2 separate regions of the Homo sapiens genome follow, and region 1 is linked to region 2. The links are contacts of gene promoters, found by promoter capture Hi-C in blood cells and fetal thymus (Javierre and others, 2016). All regions are on one chromosome and are shown on one strand. The core of a region is centred on a gene start or on the middle of the fragment in contact, and the rest is flanking DNA. Distances in the headings are between cores, read along the strand shown.

Region 1 (4,979 bases), core at 21-2,520, 280 kb before region 2:
GAATCATTTACCCATGGGGTGAGGGTGGATGGGAAATAGCCCAGCTGATTTAGAAGGTAAGAAACCATGGCTCCTCCAACCCCACTAAGAAACTTCTACTATAAATTATATAATATGCAAACTATAATGATATAAATTATAATGTGATATTTGAGATTTACTTATTTTGACTTTTACCAACCAGACTATTTGGCTGGAATTGTCCTATTTCCCACTGAACTTTTTTTTTAAAAGCTTCATCTTTTCTGGTATGAAATGCAGATCATAGTACGTATCCTCGCATTGTGGCTCAGTTTGAGAACTACTAGTAATGCTCCATTTGCCTTTATGAAGCATATCACCCTTCCTGCTGGCCAGGCCGCTTCTAGATACGCTCCTACAAGTAAAACTTGGCTTTCTGTTGGTTGTCTGGTACTACTATGCCAATAGACTCCCTATTCTTTAGTCCTTTTAAAAAATTAAACAGATGCAAGAAATATGTAAGTATTAAGACTGTTTATGTTGTGGTGTTTCTGCAACTGACTGCAAACACGTGTGTATTTTTTCCCAGCCATACATCCTGGCGGAGGAGCTGCGTCGGGAGCTGCCCCCGGATCAGGCCCAGTACTGCATCAAGAGGATGCCCGCCTACTCGGGCCCAGGCAGTGTGCCTGGTGCACTGGATTACGCTGCGTTCTCTTCCGCACTCTACGGGGAGAGCGATCTGTGATGCTGAGCTTCTGTAATCACTCATCCCATCAGAATGCAATAAAAGCGGAAGTCACAGTTTGTTTCCTGGAAACTTTGACAAGCTTTATTAAGTTGAGAGAGAGAGAGGGGAAAAAAAAAAGCCTTTCGTAGTTCAGTAATTGCCAGCAATATAACACGGCTAAAATGAAGTTTTTACAGTATATGACATAGTGCGCTTCATAAATAGGTTTATTTCTGAGTTTTTAGCAAAATGTAATGAAATATCAGGTTGATTTCTTTGATTAAACAGAACAAATTACTTGAGTAATAGGAAATTAGGAGGATCTAGGGACAGAAGGAAAGTGAAAAATGTGAAAATACAAAATACCCAAGATTTAAGACCGGGGGGAAAAAACCACAAATTGGTAAATAAAGGTTTGCTATTTGTAAAAAATTTCATTTATCTCTAATATGCTTATGTGATTGCCCCTAGGGGAGTATATTTGGGATTCTAATGTTTTATTTTCATGCTTATCCAAAGATTACTATTGTATCTTCAAATGAATTTAATATTGTGAGATGGAACTGCCGGGGATTAAAAAGACTACCCAAAAGATTTTTGGCACTTACAATTTTTAAAATAGTTTATGTCATCTCTTCATTATTTAGGGCTGGATGGTCAACTCAGTCAGTGATTTTTTGATGCTTCTCTTATCCTCCAGAATAGAGACCTAAGGACACGTGGAAGTCAGTTTAATTGCCAGAGAGAAGGATGCAATCACTAGGTAAAATGAGGTTTTTAGGATTATTTATTGATTCCAGGTTCCCATGCTTTTTGTTAGAGCTTATTAGTACAGGTTCTCAAGAGATGACCACATAAAAGTGCTCTGTTTATAAATAAGCAGGTTTCTGTAGTACTGACTGGTTCATCACAAGGCAAGTCAGAAACCAGTATCCTTCTAGCTCTCCAGTCAGGACTTCCTTATGCCTCTAGTTTTATGACCGGTTAAGGAGAAGCCAGAGTTAGAGTAGGAGAGGACTAATTCTCAGCAGCAGTGGAGGTGAGTTCTTTCTTTTGCGGAAGCTTTACATATGTTTTGTGTAGTAGGAATAACTAGATATTTTAGCTAGTGTGCGGTGTGTGTTCACCCCTGGGATTGGACAGTGTATCCTAACAAGTCCCATGTCTGGTTCTGTGTCTAAAGGCCTGCTCCATGACACAGGATGCTACATGCACTCCTGCTAGCACATCTTGATCTGTTGAATGTTCATTCTTTCTTTTTGCTCATACTGCTGTAGGCTATAATTCCCCCCTGTTTTTCCATCTTGTTGACAGCTTGTAGAGAATAAAGCAGGAATTCTTTTTATATCTGAGTCCTTAATGATCAGGAAATGGATTACAAACAAACAAAAACAGTTGCAAACAGCAATTAAAGCATTACTAGAGAAGCAGTAACATGTCTGTTACCTACAGTCTGTTTGCTCAGATTTTTATAGATTTCCACCAACAGCTGGAAATGTAATATTTCCATTCCAAGCTGTCTGACAGCTTGACTCTTCTTCCTACACTGGGCCATTTAGAACCTTCAACCTTTATGAATTTCACTTAATTTGCTTCATTATTAAGTAATTGGTAGTTTCCAGATTCCTGAAATATTTGAATCCTTGAGTTTAATGCCAAACACTTTTGGGGTGGTTTAGATGAACTCTGACTCTATTTTATTTCAAGTAGGTGCTATATCCCGGCCATAAACCCCTATAGAAAAGCCAGAAAGTTGTGCTTCCTTTGAGGCTATTAGGGGGCTCTGTGGTGTTTTAGGATGGGTGTGGGTAACTCATCTACCTAAACTTTTAATTTCTTTACAACATTCAGCAAGAGAGGGGGTCAGTAGTCTCTATCTGCTAATAAATGAAGAAAGGAAGTAAACTCTGAAAAATAATAAACATGTTTATACTCTCATTTTAGGTATTATTTTTATTTCTGAAGCTGGATGCTCAAAAATTAAAACGTTTATAAGTTTCTAAATTAAACTTAATTTATAAAAGAAAAAAGAATCCCTATTTTTGTTATTTCAAAAAATAACCATTACTTTGGTTAACTACAAACAAACTTCCTCACTTAAAGGTTCCATGAGAATTAAAAACAGTCATTGGGTTAGTATTTGCCTCCCTTAAAGAATTAGAGACAGGCTTACTGGGTAGAGGGTGAACATAAGATGGAGAATTAACAATGAACCATTTAGAAGTGAATGATGGATGGCCCGGGGCATGGTGGCACACACCTGTAATCCCAGTACTTTGAGAGGCCAAGGTGGGCGGATCACTTGAGATCAGGAGTTCAAGACCAGCCTGGCCAACATGGCAAAAACCCATGTCTACTAAAAATACAAAAATTAGCCGGGTTTGGTTGCATGCCTGTAATCCCAGCTACTCAGCAGCTAAGGCAGGAGAATCACTTGAACCCAAGAGGTGGAGATTGCAGTGAGCCGAGATGGAGCCATTGCACTACCAGCCTGGGCAACAAGAGTGAAACTCCATCTCAAAAAAAAAAAAAAAAAAAAAAAAATCAGTGATGAATAGATTAGGAAGGAATTTTTAACCAAGAGATCACTTCAGAATCCTCAGTAAATATTTTCTAAAATGTATGCATACTCAGCCCTAATCCCAGAGTCTCAAGCTGTGAAGGTCTAGGTAAGACTTGGACATCTGCAGTTTTTTAAAACTCCATGGAATTTCTAATAACCCCCCATGAGAACCCGTGGATTAGAGGCAAAGGAAAGGTCATTAAGAATCAAGAGTCTAAAACGGCCAAGCGTGGTGGCTCACGCCTGTAATCCCAGCATGTTGGGAGGCCAAGGCAGGCAGATCATGAGGTCAAGAGATCGAGACCATCCTGGCCAACATGGTGAAACCCCGTCTCTACTGAAAATTCAAAAATTAGCCGGATTTGATGGTGTGCGTCTGTAGTCCCAGCTACTCGGGAGGCTGAGGCAGGAGAATCGTTTGAACCTGGGAGGTGGAGTTTGCAGTGAGCTGAGATAGTGCCATTGCACTCCAGCCTGGGCAACAGAGCAAGACTCCATCTCAAAAAAAAAAAAAAAGAAAAAAAGTCTAATAAAATGATTAGAGAAGACCTTACTGGCAAGGTTAATAGTTGAGCAATACAAATGGCCAGGCAAACCCTTGTGCCATCTGGTTGGTAATACAGAAATGCTTGACATAACTGAGTTTTAAATTAGAGCATTTGGCTTGGTATTCATTCCTGCTGTATACCAGATTCATCTATGTTCATGGAAATAAGCTGGAAATGAGCTCTTTACAGGCTTCATATGAAAGGAAACAAATCTAAGTGATACGGAGTCAGAAACATGTATTTTCAGAAGTTGCTAGTTGTTACCAGGCTGACAAAGATTCACCCACAGCTTCCCTGGATTATTTGACAAGAAGACACTGAGTTCCCACTGTGTCCTTGAGCTCTTTCGGGTTCCCTGGAGCCTACACAATAATTATACTGCTCTGAGACATTTTCATATTTCAGATGGAGTCAGCAGAGAAGACAGCGTCGTTTTTCCTTTTTAGATTCATTAATTAATAACTCAATCCTTAAGCAACTGACAGACCGTTATTCTTTTTAAGGTGCTAGGAGTTGCGATTTGTCAGTGACCCCTGGCCATGAATTCCCTCTGGGATTTAAGTCTTTTAGGAGTTACCTCCCCAGCAGTGCAGACCTCCTTGTTGTAAAATGGATGGAATGTCTGGGAGTACACCAAGGCATACTCGCAAATCCTTTTGCATGGCTGGGAACTTCCAAGAAACCACAGTGGCAGATATTAAAAAGCCAATATAAGATATAAGATATATAAGATATAAGAAAACCAATTGTCATGGTCTTGTTAAAAGAAAAACTTCAGACAAATTTAACAGAGTTGAGTTGAACAAAGAACAATTTGTGACTTGGGCAGCCCCTGAATCAGAACAGGTACAGAGCAGCTCTGGTGCTGCTGCATGAGAGGACTTGGGGACTGAGGGGGGAAAGTGAGGCGCAGAAACTGCTGGATTGGTTACAGCTTGGTGTTTGCCTTATGTAAACAATTTGAACAGTTGGCTGCCTTTCATTCACCAAAACTTGGTGATCGGTACAAAAGTAGGTTACAATCTGTTTACACATCCAGTGAGGTTACAGTTCACTGTGTATGGAAAAACCTTTAGGCTGAACTTAAAATATGTCAGGAGGCAGATTTAGGCTAACCTTTATTTAACAGTCTTTGCAAGACAAGCTACCAGAGGAGAAAGATTCTGTAAATAGTTGT
Region 2 (4,912 bases), core at 1,578-4,077:
AGAATACTTCCCAAATTTGGACTAAGAAACATAGAAATGTCATCCTCTAAACTTTTTATTAATAATTTTATGATTAATAAAGATTTAAAATGTAGTATCTATTGAATATAAAGATTATATTATAATAAAGCAATATTAAGATAATAAAAAGCAAAATAAGCTATTATACATAACACGAATTTAGAAAAAGAGAATTTTTTTTTTTTTTTGAGATCAGGTCTTGCTCTGTTACTAGGGTAGTGGCTTGATCATAGCTCACTGCAGCCTCAAACTCCTGGGCTCAAGCAATCCTCCTACCTCAACCTCCCAGTAGCTAGAACTACAGGTTTGTGCCACCATGCCTAGCTAATTAAAATTTTTTTTTTTTTTGGTAGAGATGAGGTCTCCATTGCCCAGGCTCGTTTTGAACTCCTGGCTTCAAGCAATCCTCCTGTTTTGGCCTCTCAAAGCACTGGGATAACAAGTGTGAGCCATTATGCCCAGCCAATAAATATTTTAATAAAAATTACAAAATATATAGATATCAAATACTATTTTCTAATGAAAATTGTAAATAATTTTTTTCTATTTAATGAACTATAGTTTTGTGCCTAGAAAAAGGTCTACTTGTTAATTTCTTTTAGTCTGAGTCTACAATAAGAATTAAATACAGTAAACATAAACTTTAAGCTGTATCCAAATTTTATGTATTTTTTCTCAAGTACACTTAAAATTGAGGTTAGTTAGTATCCTATGATCTCTGCACTGGAATTCTTACTACAATTGTCCACCAGAAGAAGAAACTAGGGAATTATAACTAAATTATCCAAAAGGGTTAAATTTTTTTTAAAAAAGCTATAAGTAAAAAGTTTCCATAGCTTTCACTGAAGTTGCTTTCTTGTAAAAATTATTTTGTTATGTAATTATGAAATATAACAGAATATCAGAGTACCAAAAATAATATTCCACCAATATGCCCATCACCAGTATTAAAACACTTGTTATATTTGCTTTGGTTTTCTTTTTAAAAATAAATGTTGTATATCATTCTCAAACATATTTTTATACTTTTAGAACAGACTAGAGATCTATAAACCTCATAGTTTTGTATTTTTGTGTTTTAAAGTCCACATACACGGTGTGTTTTATAAATAGTCTCTGCTCTATGTCTACTTGCTGTTGAAGACTGTATGGGGTGAATAAGAAACATCGAGTGTCTAGGCCTTTTAGCATTATTCCACTTACATTGAGAGAACTAAAGAAATAATAACCATAACTCTTGCTAGAACAGTTTACAGCCTAGTTAAAATGCCAAAATGAAGACGTGGTAAGCGTTTTTATATTATTTTACCTACCATCTGGGTAGAATGGAGTAATTAAGAAACCTGTCTCTGCATAGTTCTGAATAAAATAGTTTAAAACGTCAATTTGATACGTTCTAAATTTGGAAGATCAAATCATTTAACATTAAATCAGGAGCCAATTTCAGAATATAGTCATTGCTCATGGAGGACTCTTACCCGACTTTTTGGGAGCTCACTGGTTGTTCCTTTAGAGACTCGTAAGAGTAAACATTCACATAAATAATAACGGTTTAAGAGTTGGTTAGTCGTCATGGCTACAGGGATAGGTCAAGTTTTTAGGTAAGGTGACTGGTATACTTCCATGAGATAGGGCAGAACATTACTAGTTCTACCACGGACAGCGAGTATTTATACACATATTGTCATTCTCCTGGAAATTTACAAACCTACCCCAGTAAGTACAAAGTTAATGAATGCTAAAAATAAAATATAAACTGTATAGAACTCAGTGGTCGATTTTAATAATGAGTTAGATGCCGCAGAATGTAAGATGTAGGTAAACGGACGCAAAAATCCTTGTTTTACAATGTCTGCATCTCCGTAGTACTGACATTTGAAAACTTTACTTTGCACATACTTATTTTAAGTACGATAAATGAAAGCGCTGTGGACTAGGAACAAGAGACAAATTGCTTTCTTGTCCAAATTGTCTCAGACCCTGTATTTTCTTAGTCATAGCCGTTTGTTAAGTAGGCATTTGGTAGACTATTGCATGGAGGATTGCGAGAGCAAGATATTACTATCTGCGGTGGAATGCTCGAATTTCTTCTCTCAGCAAGGATAATGGGTAGCACAGTCTGACTTTAGACCCATCCAGTGGTTCAGACTTATAGATAGTATCCCATACTTTACCGCAATTCCTTGTTGAATTAAGGCTTGCACTTCGAATACAGACTACACACTTCTGGGTCTGTCTTGTACCACATTGTCTGGCATAGGCGCTCACTGTATATTTGTTGAATGTTAAAGTTCTGTGCACCAAAACCGTGCACTTTGCATCGATTATCTGCGAAAAGCATGGTACACTAAAACTAGATCTTGAAGAATTCCCATTTGATCATGAATAGAGGTAATCCACGTTTAAAATACCAGGTGTTGCGTAATCTCTACTTGGAGATTAGCCACCCCGTGCGCCCAGGTGAAAGATATCATTCTTCCGTGCGATCCGAAGTGCCGTGGAAGTTAGTGCCCTAGCCCAGTCCAGGAGGAAGGGGCGTCGTGCCGGCGGTTTTAAGCTCGGAAGGGGCAGGGGAATGAGCCCAGGGACCCCAGCGGGGCGCAGGTAGGAGGCTGTGCGCTCGCCGGGTGCGCTCCGGCCCCGATTCCCAGCGCAGCCAGTAAGTGGCGCTGGGCCTCGGGTTTGGCGGCCCGGAGGAGCGGGCTGCGGATTACCTGCAGCAGCGGGGAGCCGCCGAGCTCCTCCCCGCCCGCCCCCACACCCCACCCCCACCGCTGCACTAACCCCGGCTCAGCTGGCTCCGCGCACTTGCTCGGAGGAGCCGGGGCCGAGCGGACCGCCGGCTGCAGGCAGCGAGCGCGGCTGGGCTGCGGGGCTGCTTCCCCGCGTCCTCCGGGCCCGGGCCGCCCTCCTCCCGCACAGTGCGGAGCAGGGAGGCCCCGCGCCTCGACCACCCGCGCCCGAGCGTCCGCGCCTCCTCCTCCGCTCTGCAGGCGGGGACCGCCCGGCGCTCGGCACCCGGCAGCGCGGCCCCCTCCAGCCCCCGGCTCCCGGCAGCAGAAGCAGAAGGCAGCGCCAGGGGCCGCCGCCGCCGCCGAGCTCCGCGGGGCTCGGGAGCCGGCCCCGGCGAGGAGGCGCGGAACCATGGCCGATGGGGGCGAGGGCGAAGACGAGATCCAGTTCCTGCGAACTGTAAGCGCCGTGCGTCGCGTGTGCTGTCAGGGGAAGGGGGCGTCAGGGCATCCACTAGCGGGGTCCGGGCAGAGTGACAGCGGGCAGCGGGGACTCGCGGGCGGGGCGAGGGGGTGCCCCCTGAGGATGCGGGAGGAGCGGGCATCACCAAGTGTGTGCAGGTGTGCGTGTTGGGGCGAGGGAAGGCAAGGGCGCGTGTCTGTGCGCGCGTGTGGAAAGCTAGAGGATGGAGCGCGGCTAGCCGGCGGCAGGCGCCCGGGCTCGGACCCGGGGCACCGGGGACAGGAGCGTCGGAGCTGCGGGAACCGGGAGAGGAGGGGACGGCCGGTCCGGCCTGCCTGGTGGCACGGCTGGGACCTCCCGGGCGGCCGGGGGCAGGGTGCAGAGCAGGGTGGCCCGTGGGGGCGCGGGGAGCGGCGGGAACTCGGGCTGTTTCTGGGAATACCGCCGCCGGGAGGTTTCTTGGGCTTTCGGGCTGGACCCGCGCGTTGTCACGGAGCGAAGACGTTGGTTCGCTTACTCCGTGTAGCGTGCGGCGCAGCTGACCGGGGGCGGGGGTGATGGTGCAGGACGCTGCGCGGAGGTTTCCCCCAAGTCAAGGTGCTGCGAAAGCGGAGGAGGAGTCGCCTCCGTGGTCCCCGCGGTTCCCGGGGCTGGTGCCATCCGTGGTGGTGCTGTGACCGCTTGCAAAGCGTGGAAGGCATGGGAAGCGAGCGTGTGTTTGCGTGTGTGCGCGCGCGCGGGTGGTGGTGGGGAGAACATCGTGAACGTGTCGTTCTCTAAATGCTGGCTTATTGCATGCCAAGTGAAGCAAAGTGTGTGTGTGTAAGTGTAAGGGCAGGGTGGCTGCCCGGGAAAGGTTGGCTCCACACTAATACAATTCTTTCTCCTTAAGTACCTCTTGGCACTGCTCCTTCCTTTCTCTCATTTGTTCGAACACTGCAGATACTTCCCAGGCTGAGGCATTGCACACCTCCAAGCTGGGACTGGAGAGCCTCTCCAGAAAAGAAAATGCCCTAACTTCCTGCTAATAATAACCTAGTTAGCATCCTTTCAGTCGTTCCTTCTCCACTTCTGTCCTCCTTCCCGAAGGATGTTCCCTTGCAGGATTCCCCAGACTTCCCCAACCTAGAACTGCAGCTTCTGCTGGTACTTCTTTCCTCAGCAGTACAAAAACAAAACAAAACAAAACAAACAAACAAACAAAACCACTTCCCGGTTACAGTTACCTATAATCACAGAAAATCGTAGATACGGTGGAATTTTGGAATATTAACTTTTAGGTGTGAAAATAGTCTTGATGTATTTGGGTACTAAACATATGAAAACAGCGAATTTGCAAAGGAACGTTGTAAACGACTGTCTCTTTCTCTTTTGTGCATTAAACGGACTGGGAGAAAGCTTTGGGAAGGATAAAAACCCAGGGTCCACATCAGATGACAACCTAATAGTAATCCAGTCTAATAGCTGCAGGTTATGCACCATTGCATATGCTTTTTGAAGTACTGTTGGCCCAAGACCGGGCTTGGAAGAGCCTCTTCACTAATACCTTGGTCACGGTGTATAAACCTGCTAGTAATACAGTTGTCTTTTTCATAGAAAATAGACTATAAGGGTTTTTTTTTTTTTAAGTAATTAACACCACATTAGATTTTTCTCAAAACTAAGGACTATTTTATTCAGGTGGACAAATACGGTT

The links. Contacts are between HindIII fragments. The CHiCAGO score rates a contact against its expected background, and 5 or more counts as called.
Region 1: a contact is called between a fragment that was not itself captured here and the fragment with the promoter of RYR2 in region 2, in 1 of 17 cell types (erythroblasts). The highest score is 5.9, in erythroblasts.

What each region holds. Positions count from the first base shown.
Region 1 is chr1:236,761,911-236,766,889 of GRCh38, forward strand. ACTN2 (actinin alpha 2) reads left to right here. Exons shown (of 21, transcript NM_001103.4): 21 at 551-2,721. The coding sequence ends at 709. Among named protein-coding and RNA genes, the nearest start is that of MTR, 31 kb to the right of the region's middle. The HindIII fragment of the contact is 962 bases long and covers 790-1,751 here.
Region 2 is chr1:237,039,357-237,044,268 of GRCh38, forward strand. It overlaps RYR2 (ryanodine receptor 2), which reads left to right and starts at 2,828. Exons shown (of 105, transcript NM_001035.3): 1 at 2,828-3,213. The coding sequence starts at 3,166. The HindIII fragment of the contact is 4,786 bases long and covers 1-4,612 here.